Linked DNA regions of Homo sapiens: regions 2, 3 and 4 are each linked to region 1. Evidence: promoter capture Hi-C in 16 types of primary human blood cells and fetal thymus (Javierre and others, 2016). All regions are on one chromosome and are shown on one strand. The core of a region is centred on a gene start or on the middle of the fragment in contact, and the rest is flanking DNA. Distances in the headings are between cores, read along the strand shown. Region 1 holds the start of IMPA2 (inositol monophosphatase 2). Region 2 has its middle 2.5 kb from the start of SEH1L. Region 3 overlaps CEP76 (centrosomal protein 76). Region 4 has its middle 3.7 kb from the start of PTPN2.

What was found. The method cuts DNA at HindIII sites, captures the fragments that hold promoters and counts their contacts. A CHiCAGO score of 5 or more calls a contact.
Region 2: a fragment that was not itself captured here is called in contact with the fragment with the promoter of IMPA2 in region 1 in 4 of 17 cell types (non-activated CD4 T cells, naive CD4 T cells, monocytes and 1 more); the score reaches 10.3 in non-activated CD4 T cells.
Region 3: a fragment that was not itself captured here is called in contact with the fragment with the promoter of IMPA2 in region 1 in 1 of 17 cell types (non-activated CD4 T cells); the score reaches 5.6 in non-activated CD4 T cells.
Region 4: a fragment that was not itself captured here is called in contact with the fragment with the promoter of IMPA2 in region 1 in 1 of 17 cell types (non-activated CD4 T cells); the score reaches 8.3 in non-activated CD4 T cells.

The regions. Positions count from the first base shown.
Region 1 is chr18:11,980,251-11,983,291 of GRCh38, forward strand. IMPA2 (inositol monophosphatase 2) reads left to right here and starts at 1,257. Exons shown (of 8, transcript NM_014214.3): 1 at 1,257-1,515. The coding sequence starts at 1,420. RefSeq lists silencers at 180-474, 315-1,794. The HindIII fragment of the contact is 12,350 bases long and covers 1-2,968 here.
Region 2 is chr18:12,943,953-12,947,000 of GRCh38, forward strand. No RefSeq gene overlaps it. Among named protein-coding and RNA genes, the nearest start is that of SEH1L, 2.5 kb to the right of the region's middle. The HindIII fragment of the contact is 1,374 bases long and covers 689-2,062 here.
Region 3 is chr18:12,698,885-12,702,104 of GRCh38, forward strand. CEP76 (centrosomal protein 76) reads right to left here. Exons shown (of 12, transcript NM_024899.4): 2 at 2,074-2,229; 3 at 946-1,021; 4 at 95-319. It also overlaps a transcript of PSMG2 not described here. Among named protein-coding and RNA genes, the nearest start is that of CEP76, 2.2 kb to the right of the region's middle. RefSeq lists enhancers at 2,984-3,220, 3,167-3,220. The HindIII fragment of the contact is 2,094 bases long and covers 264-2,357 here.
Region 4 is chr18:12,886,327-12,889,611 of GRCh38, forward strand. No RefSeq gene overlaps it. Among named protein-coding and RNA genes, the nearest start is that of PTPN2, 3.7 kb to the left of the region's middle. The HindIII fragment of the contact is 5,305 bases long and covers 1-3,285 here.

The DNA of each region.
Region 1 (3,041 bases), core at 7-2,506:
AATAATTTTACGTGGGTTAGCATCTTTTATAAAACGGGCAGGCAGAGCGGCTTATGAAATTAACCTTGGAAACCACGCGGCCACTCTTTCGGGAAATGCCTCCTATTTATGTTTACATGGGCCAGCAAGAGAATCCAAGGTTGGAAAGGTCATTCCTCACTACAGAGGCTCATCGCAATCACAGTTCCGTCTCCAAATTCGAGTTTTGGGTGTGAAGAGTTTATAAAGTCCAGCCGCTGTCCTCGCAGTGTTTGGGGTTAGCGGAGGGAGAGCTTGTTTGCGACCAAACTTGCCGCGCGGGGCGGCCGCTTGCAGGAACACTGCGGCCTTGTGCGCTCGGCGGTCTGAGCTCCTGCGAGGCCGAGAACGACGCCTAGCGCCCAGCGGCCTCCGCGAACAAAAAGCGACCGGTCGGAAGGTGCTGGCCCAGCCGCCCCTGGCGCTCGAGCCCGAATCCGGCCACAGACCATGAAGGGACGCCCGGCACCACGTGCGCGGGGATCCGCGGACGGGACGCTCCCCGGCACCTCCGGGGCTGGGCCGGCACCGCACGGTCCCACCCAGACAGTAGCTGCCCCGGGCCCCCAAAACAGCCGCTCCTAGCTCCTCCCTCCCAGCTCTGCGGTGGCCCAAGCCGCCCTCCGCGCGCTTGACCCAGAACAGTACGGAGTTCTGCACGAGCCGGGGGTGGGGCCTGTCTCAGCGCGCGGCGGTGGGGCGGGGCTTGGACACGGGCCCGGCTCAACTTGAGGGAGGCGGGGCTCGAGGCTCAGAGGAGTTGGAGCCCGCTCTGCGCGCTGCGGGACGGGGCACGGCGGAGCAGGGTTGGGTCCGCCTCGAGCGGGGAGGGTGATGCTGCACCACAGGGGCGGGGCTGGAGGTAAAGCGCGGAGCGGAGAGGGACCAGGCTCGGCACTGATTTGTGTTCAGGGCTAGCCCAGAGGGGCGGGGCCAGGTACGGGGCGCAGCCGGGAGCGGGAGGGGCGGTGCAGGACGGGGCCGGGCACGGCGCGGGAAGAGGCCAGGAGCAGCAACGGGTGCGGGGCGGGGCCGGGAGCGTCAAGGGGCGGGGAAGAGGGGGGAATGGGCGGGGCCGAGCTCTGCGAGGGGCGAGGTGGGGAATGCAGAGCGGGGCCGGACGCGGGAGCAGGGAGCTGGGCGGGGAGCGGGGCGGGGAGCTGGGCTGGGCTCGGCACGGGGCGGGGCGGAGGGTGGGGAGCGGAAAGCAGGACGCACGGCTCCCGCGGCCCGCTGGCTGCCCTTCCCGCCAGCGCAGGTGTGGGACGGGCGGCGGACTAGGCACAGAGCTGCGGGAGCAGGCACAGGGAGTGTGGAGCCTGGCGGCGGGACGGCGGGATCCGGTGGGAGCCGGAGTCCCGCCGAGGGGGGCTGGAGGTGGAGGGGCCCGGCGAGGCCGCGATGAAGCCGAGCGGCGAGGACCAGGCGGCGCTGGCGGCCGGCCCCTGGGAGGAGTGCTTCCAGGCGGCCGTGCAGCTGGCGCTGCGGGCAGGACAGGTGAGCGCCACGGCTGGGCTCGGAAGTCCGGGCGGAGCAGAAGCGCGTGGGCCTTGGGAGCCGCCTGGAGTGGCGGGGTCCTGGCGCGCAGCCGGCGGGCGCCCAGGGTCCGCACCCGAGGGCGCGGGGCGCGGAGCGGTGAAAGGAGCCTTTGTGCTGGTGTCCTGGACACACCTCCCGCGCCCTTCTCCAACTCCCGGAGCCCTGGCGGCGAGCCCCTCTGCTTTGGAGTTCAGCGGCTAACGTGACCTTTGCGTTTGAGTGAGTGGTCAGAATGTAGAAATCTCTCCAGGGGTAGCGTACGGGGCTGTTGATTTTTAAGGACCTATGAACGGATTCAGCTCGCGGTAGGAAGCCCGGGGCTAAGCCCCAGCCGCGTGGGGATCTGGCTGGGCTGCCGTTTGATTGTCCTGGCTGCAGCATCCTCAACCCAAACTTACTCTGACCCACACCCTGAAAGTGGCTCAGCTCCGCGACGGCCACGGACTCAGAGTTCAGGAGGAACTTGTTACACTGCCCGGAAGGATGAAAACCGAGCCGCAGAGCTACCGAAAACCAGCGAGCAGAGTTTAAAATGGAGTGCAGTTCCTCTCTTCTCTTTTTCATTTTTGTGATTGTTCCTTCCACTTTCCTCAGTACCTTTAGCAGTGCCTGACACACCGACGGTAGTGGTAGGCAAGCGAGTGTTGGTTCTCCCAGGACTGTAAGATGGCTTACTCCATGTTTGTCTCTTAGGATGTGATTGTGGGCCGGGCGCAGTGGCTCACGCCTGTAATCCCAGCACTTTGGGAGGCCGAGGCGGGTGGACCACTTGAGGTCAGGAGTTCGAGACCAGCCTGACCAACATGGTGAAACCCCGTCTCTACTGAAAATACAAAATTAGCTGGGCATGGTGGCGCGTGCCTTAGTTCCAGCTATTTGGGAGGCTGAGGCAGGAGAATCACTTGAACCTGGGAGGCGAAGGTTGCAGTGAGCTGAGATCGCGCCATTGCACACCAGCCTGGGCAACAAGAACAAAACTCCGTCTCAAAAAAAAAAAAAAAAAGTGATTGTTTTCGGGGATTTTAGAGACAGGAGGTGTGCTGAGAGCAGATTGGCCTTTTATATTCAAACATTTGTTTTCTTTTTTGAGGTCTGACAGTCCGAAAATGCTCTACCAGTTTCCCTAGATGTTGAAATCGGACTGTTATCAATCTTAAATTTGAAGTGAGTCGTCATAAAGTGGATAGTGCTTTACCTTGGTGCAAATCCTCTAATCCTGTTTAAAAATTAATCTGCAATACTAAGTAGACTCATTTTTTGTTGAAGGGCCTTCCTTCCCTTTGTAGTTTGAAGAACCCAAGCCTCAGACCGTAAAGAATGAATGAATTTAAGAGTGTTGCGAAACTCCACCCTTTGACCTTTCCCTCCTGTAGGAAAAGGAGGACCCTAAACCTTCCTGCAAGGCAGATGAAGCTTGTAGCTTCAGTGCAAGCGTTCTTCCTGGAAAGCAGAGCTGCTGTGTGCATGGAACACGGGTTCTCCTT
Region 2 (3,048 bases), core at 126-2,625, 960 kb after region 1:
ACTTCGGCCTCACAAAGTGCTGAGATTACAGGCATGAGCCACCATGCCCAGCACAAAATGGCTGATTTTTTAAAGGAAGATATAAATGATCAAAATTGTCTTGACAAAAGGTAAAAAATCTGAAGAGGCCATGAATAAAATAATTTTAAAAGGTAGTTAAAATTAACTATACCTATCATCACCCAAGGCATGAGGCTGATAAAATTTTGTGAACGTCATCTACAAAATCTTCACGGAATCTTCTACAAAATCTTCATAGGAATCTTTCAGTTCCTATGCTATTTAAACTGGCGCAGAGCAGGAAAAAAAATGTGAAAGCTTCTTAACTCATTGTAGGTTATTTATTTATTTATATTTTTGAGATGGAGTCTCGCTCTGTTGCCCAGGCTGGAGTGCAGCGGTGCAATCTCAGCTTACTGCAACCTCTGCCTCCAGGGTTAGAGCGATTCTCCTGCCTCAGCCTCCTGAGTAGCTGAGATTACAGGCGCTCACCAACACGCCCAGCTAATTTTTGTATTTTTAGTAGAAACGGGGTTTCACCATGTTGGCCAGGCTGGTCTTGAACTCCTGACCTCAAGTGATCTGCCCGCCTCAGCCTCCCAAAATGTTGGGATTACAGGTGTGAGCTGCCACGCCCAGCCTTCACTGTAGGTCGTATTCTTTCCAGAATATGAACTGGAAACCTCCAAGCTTGTTTTTCCAGACTCTTATTAGCTCTCTATTTCTAGTTAGGTTCTGAATTGAGAGACAGTAGGGGATTCAGATGCAGGAGGAAGAAGACCTTTTCTCCAATTTGTGGAGGCAGCTCACATAGCTGAGTAGTGGTGGTGGTGGCAATGGGTGAGCCTGGCTTCCTGCTCGGGGGTGATGTGAACAGCAGCAGTAGCAGCAGCACTCAGCCCTAGCTCCAGCAGTACTAGCAGAGGCTCCAGGAACCTCAGCTGTTCAGAGCTTGTGGGCTCCCATGGCTGTTACTCTGTTGGACGCCTGCAGTGTAAGCTGGAGTATTGGCTCCTGGCTTTCTGCCTGCTGGTGGTAAAGGTGCCAATGTCAGCAGCCTCAGAGTCAATGATGGTAGCACTGGGTAAAACTATTTTCCCTTTCACGCTCCCAGCCCAGAGTTTCCCGTAGTTACTAGTCTCTGGGTAATCTCACATGTTCCCTTTTTGCTCTTAATTAACCCCTTGGATATATATGTAACCAGTTTCCTGTGTTAAATTCTCTCTCTCTTTTTTTTTTTTTTTTGAGATAGTGTCTCCCTGCGTTGCCCAGGATGGAGTCCTGTGGCACAATCTCGGTTCCACCACCACTCCTGGGGCATTTTTTTGTATTTTTATTTTGTATTTTTAGTAGAGAAGCGGGTCTCGCCACGTTGCCCAGGCTGGTCTTGAACTCCTGAGCTCAGATAATCTGCCCGTCTCGGCCTCCCAAAGTGCTGGATTACAGGGTAATTTAGCCACCAGGCCTGGCTGACACGACCACTTTGGAAGACAGTTTGTAAGTTTCTTATAAAACCAGGCCAGGCACAGTGGCTCATGCCTGTAATCCAAGCACTTTGGGAGGCCAAGGCAAGAGGATCGCTTGAGCCCAAGAGTTTGAGACCAGCCTGCTCAACATGGTGAAACCCCATCTCTGCAAAAAACAGAAAAATTAGCTGGGTGTGGTGGCACTGTGCCTGTAGTCCCAGCTGCTCGGGAGGCTGAGGTGGGAGGATCATCTGAACCCAGGGAATTTAAAGCTGCAGTGAGCCACGATTGTCTGCCATGACAGAGTGAGACCCTGTCTCAAAAAACAAAACAAAACCCCAAAAAACAAAACTAAACTTACTCTTACAATATGATCCAGCAATCATGCTTCTTGGTATCTACCCAAAGGAGTTGCGAACATGTCCACACAAAAACCTGTACACAGATGTTTGTAGGAGCTTTATTGATAATTGCCCAAACACAGAAACAACCAGAATGCCCTTTAGTTGGGGAATGAATAAACACTGTTACAGCCTGACAATGGAATATTATTCAGCACTAAAAAGAAATGAACTCTCAAGACAAGACATGGAGAAAGCTTAAATGCATATTACTATAAGGAAAGAAGCCAATCTGAAAAGGCTAGCCACTCCAAGATTCCCATTATATGCCATTCTGGAAAAGTCAAAACCATGCAGTCAGTGGAAAGATCAGCGGTTGCCAGGTGTTGTCGGAAGAAAGGGATGAACAGGAGCACTAAGGATTTTCAGGGCAGTCAAACTATTCCGCGTGATACTATAATGGTGGATCCATGTCATTATATATTTGCCAAAACCCACAGAATAAAACACCAAGAGTGAACCCTAATGCAAACTCTGAATTTTGGGTGATAATGATGTGTCAATGTAGGTTCACTGATCATAACAAAGGTACCACTTTGGTATGGGATGTTGACAGTGGAGGATGCTGTGCATGTGTGACAGTAGGGGTACATACGGGAACTCTATTTTCTGCTCAATTTTGCTGTGAACCTGAAAGTGTTCTAAAAACTAAAGTCTATTTTAAAAAATCCACTGTTTCACCTAATTCAACACTTCACTCCCACTCTGATAATCTCTGGCAACCAATGATCTGTTTACTGTCTGTATTTAAATTTAATTAAAACAATTTTTAAACTGTTTTGATATTTTTATAATAATCAATATATTTTGATTGGACTTTTATAGTGAGCACTTTCTTTGGAAATGAGTGTCTTTGACCTTCAAAAAAGTTATAGTTGTTATCAGTTATCATAAGAGGTGGGGCCCACCTCTTAAAGTAGCAATAAAATCTTATTTATGGTTGAAAAAGGTCAGGTCATTGCGCCACTTCTCTTTGCAGGTTTCTGTGCAATCCATCAGGGGACAGCTGGGACTAATCATTTAAAAAACTTTCCAGCCTGCTAATTTTACCATACCTCACATTTTTGTCATTCCTGGCCAAAATCCAAAGGGCAAGTCCCTTCTGCAGCCTCATTTTTTTTTTTTCTGTACTTTCGCTCCCCTGACGCAAGCTTCCACTGTCTCCCATCCTAACTTTACCA
Region 3 (3,220 bases), core at 61-2,560, 720 kb after region 1:
ATCTCTCCTTACAGAAAAAGTCATTATTATTGTTTCACAATAAAACATAACAAAGATTTACTCAATTAAATGACAATTTATTACTGTTTCTTACCCAAGCTTTCTCTGTGTACTTCAAGTAAAAAGCCATCATGAAAATCTGGTTCACAGGCACATGGAACAGGTTTAGAACGAAAACGTTGGTTTCGATAATGTAAACATAAAGTAAACGTTGAACAAACTTGTCCAGGTAAAGGCTCAGGTTCTTGCAGATGTTCCAAGAAAGCTTTTCCACCCAAAACCTGAAGGTAAAGATACCTCCGTGTTGGATCAATATTAGCTGTAAAGTGTAGCAATATATATGAGGAAACTGCCAAATAACTTAAAAGAATGTGATCAAGACATTAGGAAATAAAAACTTGACAGATAAAAACCCAATACCAAAGACTAAAAAAAAAGCAAAAGAGTAACAAATTTATTACTGTATATGCCAGAATCATTTGCACTCTGGGGAGAAGATACACAAAATATGATATTCTTTTCTGAGTTTACATCCAGGCTACTTTCTCCCAGCTGGAAAAGGCATCAGAGCCAATATGTAGTATACTTTTGCTTTTTAACTGCTTATCCAACATTCCTCCACCTTCACAAACCAACTCATATAATTATCAATTCAGCAAGTGTATTTGTCAATTATATTAATATTTAAAAGCAAGGCTGTACAGTTTTTATAAAACATATTATTAAAACACAAGAAACTGGTGATGCTGTTTTTGCTTCTACCGTGCTATACATTAACTCTTCTGATATACTTCATGCAAAACAATCTGTTTTAGCCAACCATAAAATTTTAAGTATTTTATTTTGGGGGGAAAAAATGGAAATGTCTTCTATCAAATACGAAAGACTACACCACATCAATATTTACTATTAACCACAACTAAATTAATGTTAAAATATACATACTTTTTTTTAATGTCGATTGTCTATCAAAACAAATAGGTTGTTTTGGAGAGGAAGGGAGTTCTTGCTCAACACTGTCCTAGAAAGGCAGGAAAAAAAAATCAAAACAAATTAGAAAACAATTATAGGTTAAGGAAATGTCAATAAACATGACTAAGCACTGAACCTAAAGTCAACAGGGTAAGGCCCTTTCAAAGAACCCCTTATTTTCCTAGCCTAATTAAAATAATGAAAATAAAAGCCTGCATAAAAGATGATGTAAACTGATCACTCCTAAAATCAAATGCTAAGGAATTAAACTGTCTTCAAGTAATACTATCCACATAAAGCTAAAAACAAATCCTTAATACCTTCAACAAGGTTAAACTTTCTGTAAACCTTATGTAACAGTTGGCTTATAATTCCACTATGAGCTGATTTTAATAAAGTGTCATCACAGAGTAGAAGCTGTTATTAGGTCAATTTTTATAACAAACGGGTTCATAAACTTCAAAAACCAAAAAAAGGTGCTGTATTAAAATACTTATTCCCTATTGTATTATGAAGTCCATCCAATTTTCACATTATATTACCCAGGTATTGAGGTCACAGTTTCCATTATTGCCTCACTTTCAAATGAAGGCCTACTTACTAATTGTGCACTGAGAGACTATCATCCCATTATTGACCTATTTGTATTAAAAGATTTGAGGACTCTTATGCAGTCAATTATTTTCTTAAAGAAATTTGTAATTTGTTAATCATAGAGAATATAATCCCAAAAGAGTGCTTATTTTAAAAATACGCTTAATCTAAAAAAGTTACAGATCATAATGAAAAAGAACTTTGTTATGGTGAACTAATTGGACTAAAGTATGTATATTCAAATTTACAGACCTAGAAAATAAGAGAAAATTCTGTCACTGTAGAGACAGGAATAAGATATCTAACACAAATTTCATTGATACACAAAACTATTCAGTATATTCAAGGGCAGAGCTAGCCTATACTTGAAACAAGGACACTAGTAAACAGAATGACCTTGAAGTGGTTTTACTAAAACGAAAGGCCCCACATCGGAACCTTATAAGTAGTGTTACGCATTAGTATATACATATATACTCTCATTTATTTCCCTAAAAGATTACTCACAGTAACAAAATTAAGTTCTTTCATCACATCGTCAATGATTCCTCGACGTCTAAGGGCTTTGATCAAATCTTCTGTTGATAAATGCTGTTGATCAGGTGCCAATTCTTCCCGTATAGTCTCAGCAAGGATTTCTCTTATTCTACCATGGACATCCATCTATGTAGAAAACTCATATTACAATTTATAACATCACAAAGCAGTCAAATACTGCTTCTGAAGTTTTAAGGTTCTCCAGCTAACAGTAAATGCACAATTGTTACCACAATTGAATGGGAACAAAGGTAAGCTTTTAAAGAATGAATCTTTTGAGTACAAATTCTAGAAATAGTCTCCACTGGTTATCTGGCACCTTTGTTACCATTTCTCCACAAACAACACTCAACCAAAAGGAATCTTCTGAGAGGGAGTATAGTATAATCAGAAGAACACGGACTGGGAGTAGGCAGATCAAAGTATGATCTTATTACTTTCATACTTTGATCTGCCTAATGATAAGGGAATCTTACCAGCTTTCAACTTAGTAGATGTGTAACCTCAAGCCAACTTATTTACCCTTTATAAATCTGTTTCGTCACCGATAAGAATGGAAAAACCTAGTGTAGTGCCCTCTCACGATAGTGTTGTGAGGATTAAAGATACTAGACAGCACAAAGCCTGGCACACAAGGGCACCATAAATGGTCGCTTTTATCACTTCAGCATCTTGCACTCAGTCGAGCGAGCGCTGCAGAAACTGGAGGTTCTTCTGGAGCTCCGAAATATTAACAAATTCCGTCATTACAAACCCTTTAGTAACTTCTCTTCCATGACTTATTTGAGAATTGCTGATTGAAGCTCCTGGTTCAACTTCGCTGATACCCACATGTTTCAGCGGTAAAGAAACCCTGATATCTGCCGGGCGCGGAGGCTCACGCCTGTAATCCCAGCACTTTAGGAGGCCGAGGCGGCCGGATCACGAAGTCAGGAGTTCGGGACCAGCCACACCAACATGGTGAAACCGTCTCTACTAAAAATACAAAAATTAGCCGAGCGTGGTGGCGCGCGCCTGTAATCCCAGCTACTCGGGAGGCTGAGGCGGAGAATCGCTTAAACCTGGGAGGCGGAGGTTGCAGTGAGCCGAGATCGTGCCACTGCACTCCAGCCTGGGC
Region 4 (3,285 bases), core at 439-2,938, 910 kb after region 1:
TCAACTTACTCCTTGGCCCCTTCAATCCCTGTTTGGGAACCACTGCTCTAGACCAAAGGAAATGAAGCATAGCGAGAGTTTGGAGTCCCTTCTTTCACTGGAACAAGGCCTGCCTTCTGCACTTTAGTATACTGTTTAAGAGGCTCTCTCCCCTCAATGTATAATTTATACCCCTTTCAGAGAAAACTCTACTTACTACCCATAGCCCCTCCTGTGGTTTGAATAATGGTGTCCCCTCCAAAATTCACGTTGAAACTTTATCCTCATGGTGGCAGTATTAAGAGGTTGGCATTTGGGGAAGTGATTAAGTTATGAGGGTTCTGCTCTCATGAATTTGATTAGTGCCTCATAAAAGGACTGGAGGGAATTAGCTTGGGCCGTTTTTGCCCTTCTGTCCTGCCATGTGAAGGCCCCTAGGTGGCACCATGAGGAATGGGCCTTCAGCAGACACCAAACCTGCTGGTGCCTTGACCTTGGACTTCTCAGCCTTCAGAACTGTGAGAAATAAATTTCTGTTATTTGCAAATGACACAGTTGCAGCTATTTCATTATAGCAGCACAAACAGACTACCCTTATAGCTAGAACTTCAGAGGCACAAGCATATCAAAATACAGCCTAAAAGCCTGGTGTCTACAAGAGCTGTACATTTATAGAGCTGGGCAGACATTTGTTATACAAATTCAGATTGTACAGATTACAGTGAGAATGAACTTCAGTTAAATATATGTAGTTTTTAATAAACTTTTAATTGAAATATACACAAAAATGCACACAAATCACAAGTGCATAGCTCAGGGAGTTTTTACAGAGTGAACATAGCTGTCTATCAATACTCAGGCCAAGAACAGGAAATTTATCTCTCCTCCAGAAAGCCCCTGGAGCGCCATCCTAAATCCTCCCCCTTGAGTAACCAGCCCCAAGCCCTCTAACACCGTAGATTAGTTTTGCCTTTTTTGAACTTTGTTTAATTATATAATATGTGCTTTTTAATGTCTGACTGCTTTTGCTCAAGTTAGTGAGAGTCATCCACGTTGTAGGAATAGTTTGTTCATTCTTGCTGCTAAATAGCATATGATTGTTTGAGTCTACTACCATTTATTTGTTCTGAATTTGGTTGTTTCCAGTTTGGCCTTCTCATGAAGAGAACCATTAAGGACATGTTTGTCCTTGTCTTTTGGTAGACATACACTCATTTCTTGTGGGCATATGTCTAGGAGTGGGATTGCTGGATTGCAGTGTATCTATATGTTCATCATACACTGCTGAACAGTTTTCTGAGTGATTGCACCCGCACTTGAGCTTGGACACAGGATAAGGATGGCCACTATCATCACTTCTGTTCTATACTGTATAGTTATAGCAACAAGTGAGGAAAATTAAGAAGTGGTATAATGATTGGAAAGGATGAAACAAAGTTGATATTATAGCCAATATATTGTACACATAGAAAATCCAAAGTAATCTACAGGTCAACTATTAGATTAATAAGTGAATTTAGGCTAGGTGCAGTGGCTCACACCTGTAATCCGAGCACTTTGGGAAGTCAAAGTGGGAGGATCACTTGAGGCCAGTAGTTGGAGACCAGCCTGGGTAACATAGTGAGACTCCATCTCTAAAAATAAAAAAATTAGAAAAAAAAATTGAATTTAGAGATGTCTTTGAAAACAAAGTCAATATAAGAAAAAGCAGTTGTATTTTTTTTTTTTTTTTTGATGGAGTCACTCTGTCGCCCAGGCTGGAGTGCAGCGGTGCAATCTCAGCTCATTGCAACCTCTGCCTCCTGGGTTCACGCCATTCTCCCGCCTCAGCCTCCCAAGTAGTTGGGAATACAGGTGCCCGCCACCACGCCTGGCTAATTTTTTAGTAGAGATGGGGTTTCACCGTGTTAGCCAGTATAGTCTTGATCTCCTGACCTCGTGATCCGCCCACCTTGGCCTCCCAAAGTGCTGGGATTACAGGTGTGAGCCACTGCGCCCGGCAGAAAAAGCAGTTGTATTTCTACATAGCAACAGCAACTAGAAAATTTTTAAACATTGGAATATAAACTATTCCGAAAAATTCTTAACAAAAGATTAGCAAAACCTCTAGTCTGAAAACCACAACATATCACTCAGAGGAATGAAAGAAGAGCTAAATAAATGGAAGGATATACGATGTAATGTCTTGGAAACTTTAGTATTGTAAAGTTGCCAGTGCTTCTCAAAGTCATGTATGAATTCAGTGCAATCTCAATCAAAATCTCACCATATTTTTGTAGTGGAAATTGACAAGCTGATGCTACCATTTACAAATAAAAATGCAAGGGGCCAAGAATAGCCAAAATAATCTTAAGGAAGAAGAAAATGGAAGTTTTACCTCACCAGATAATAAGATTTACTCTAAAGCTACGATAATTAAAACAGCGTGTTCTTAGTGTGAAGATAGACAAATAGAAGAATGGAACAGAATAGAGTCTAAAGAAGAACTCAAGGGCCAAAAGTAGCCAAGAAGAACAGATCTGGAAGACATTATCCCTCCAGATATCAAGATCTCTTATAAAGATATGTGGTATCGACGCAAGGAAAGGCAAGCTGACCAAGGCAAGCTGACCAGTGGAACTAAACAAAGTCCAGAAACAGGTTCACACATATAGTCATCCGGTGTGTATCTTTGTGTGTGTGTATTTCACAAAGGCTTAAAGTAATGTGTCTTCAATAAATGGTGCTACATCCAAAAGAGCATAACTATATGTTTCCATTTTATATGAAGTTCAAAAATAGACAACAGAATAGTGATTACCTCTGGAGGCAGCTGGGGGCTGCCTCTGGTAGGGTGGGGGTGTTGCCTGGGAAGAAGCATGAGAGAATCTTCAGGGGTCCTGGAAATATTCCATATCTTGATTTGGTTGGTGGTACACTGTTGTGTATAATATACACGTATTTGTACATGTGTGTATAAAATGTCATTGAGCTCCACATTTAAGATTTTTTGGACTTTATTATATGTATGCTAACCTCAATAAAACTAAAAAATTCCTCACTCGAGTGAAAACTTTTTTAATTTAAATAAAAATAAACGGTATTTCATTTAGAAATGGAAACCAGGCACATTATCTTACACAGTATTTCATAAACTACCATCACCTAGTGAATATAGCAAAAGACTGTATATGGCTTCAAAGCCACATAATGCACCTAAATTCTCTAAAATTGCCAGCAATTACAAAGTGATAGATATGAGCCACATAGGATCAAGATGGGGATTCACTCATTCCATATTTTGGAGCCACAAAGTATATCTGCTGC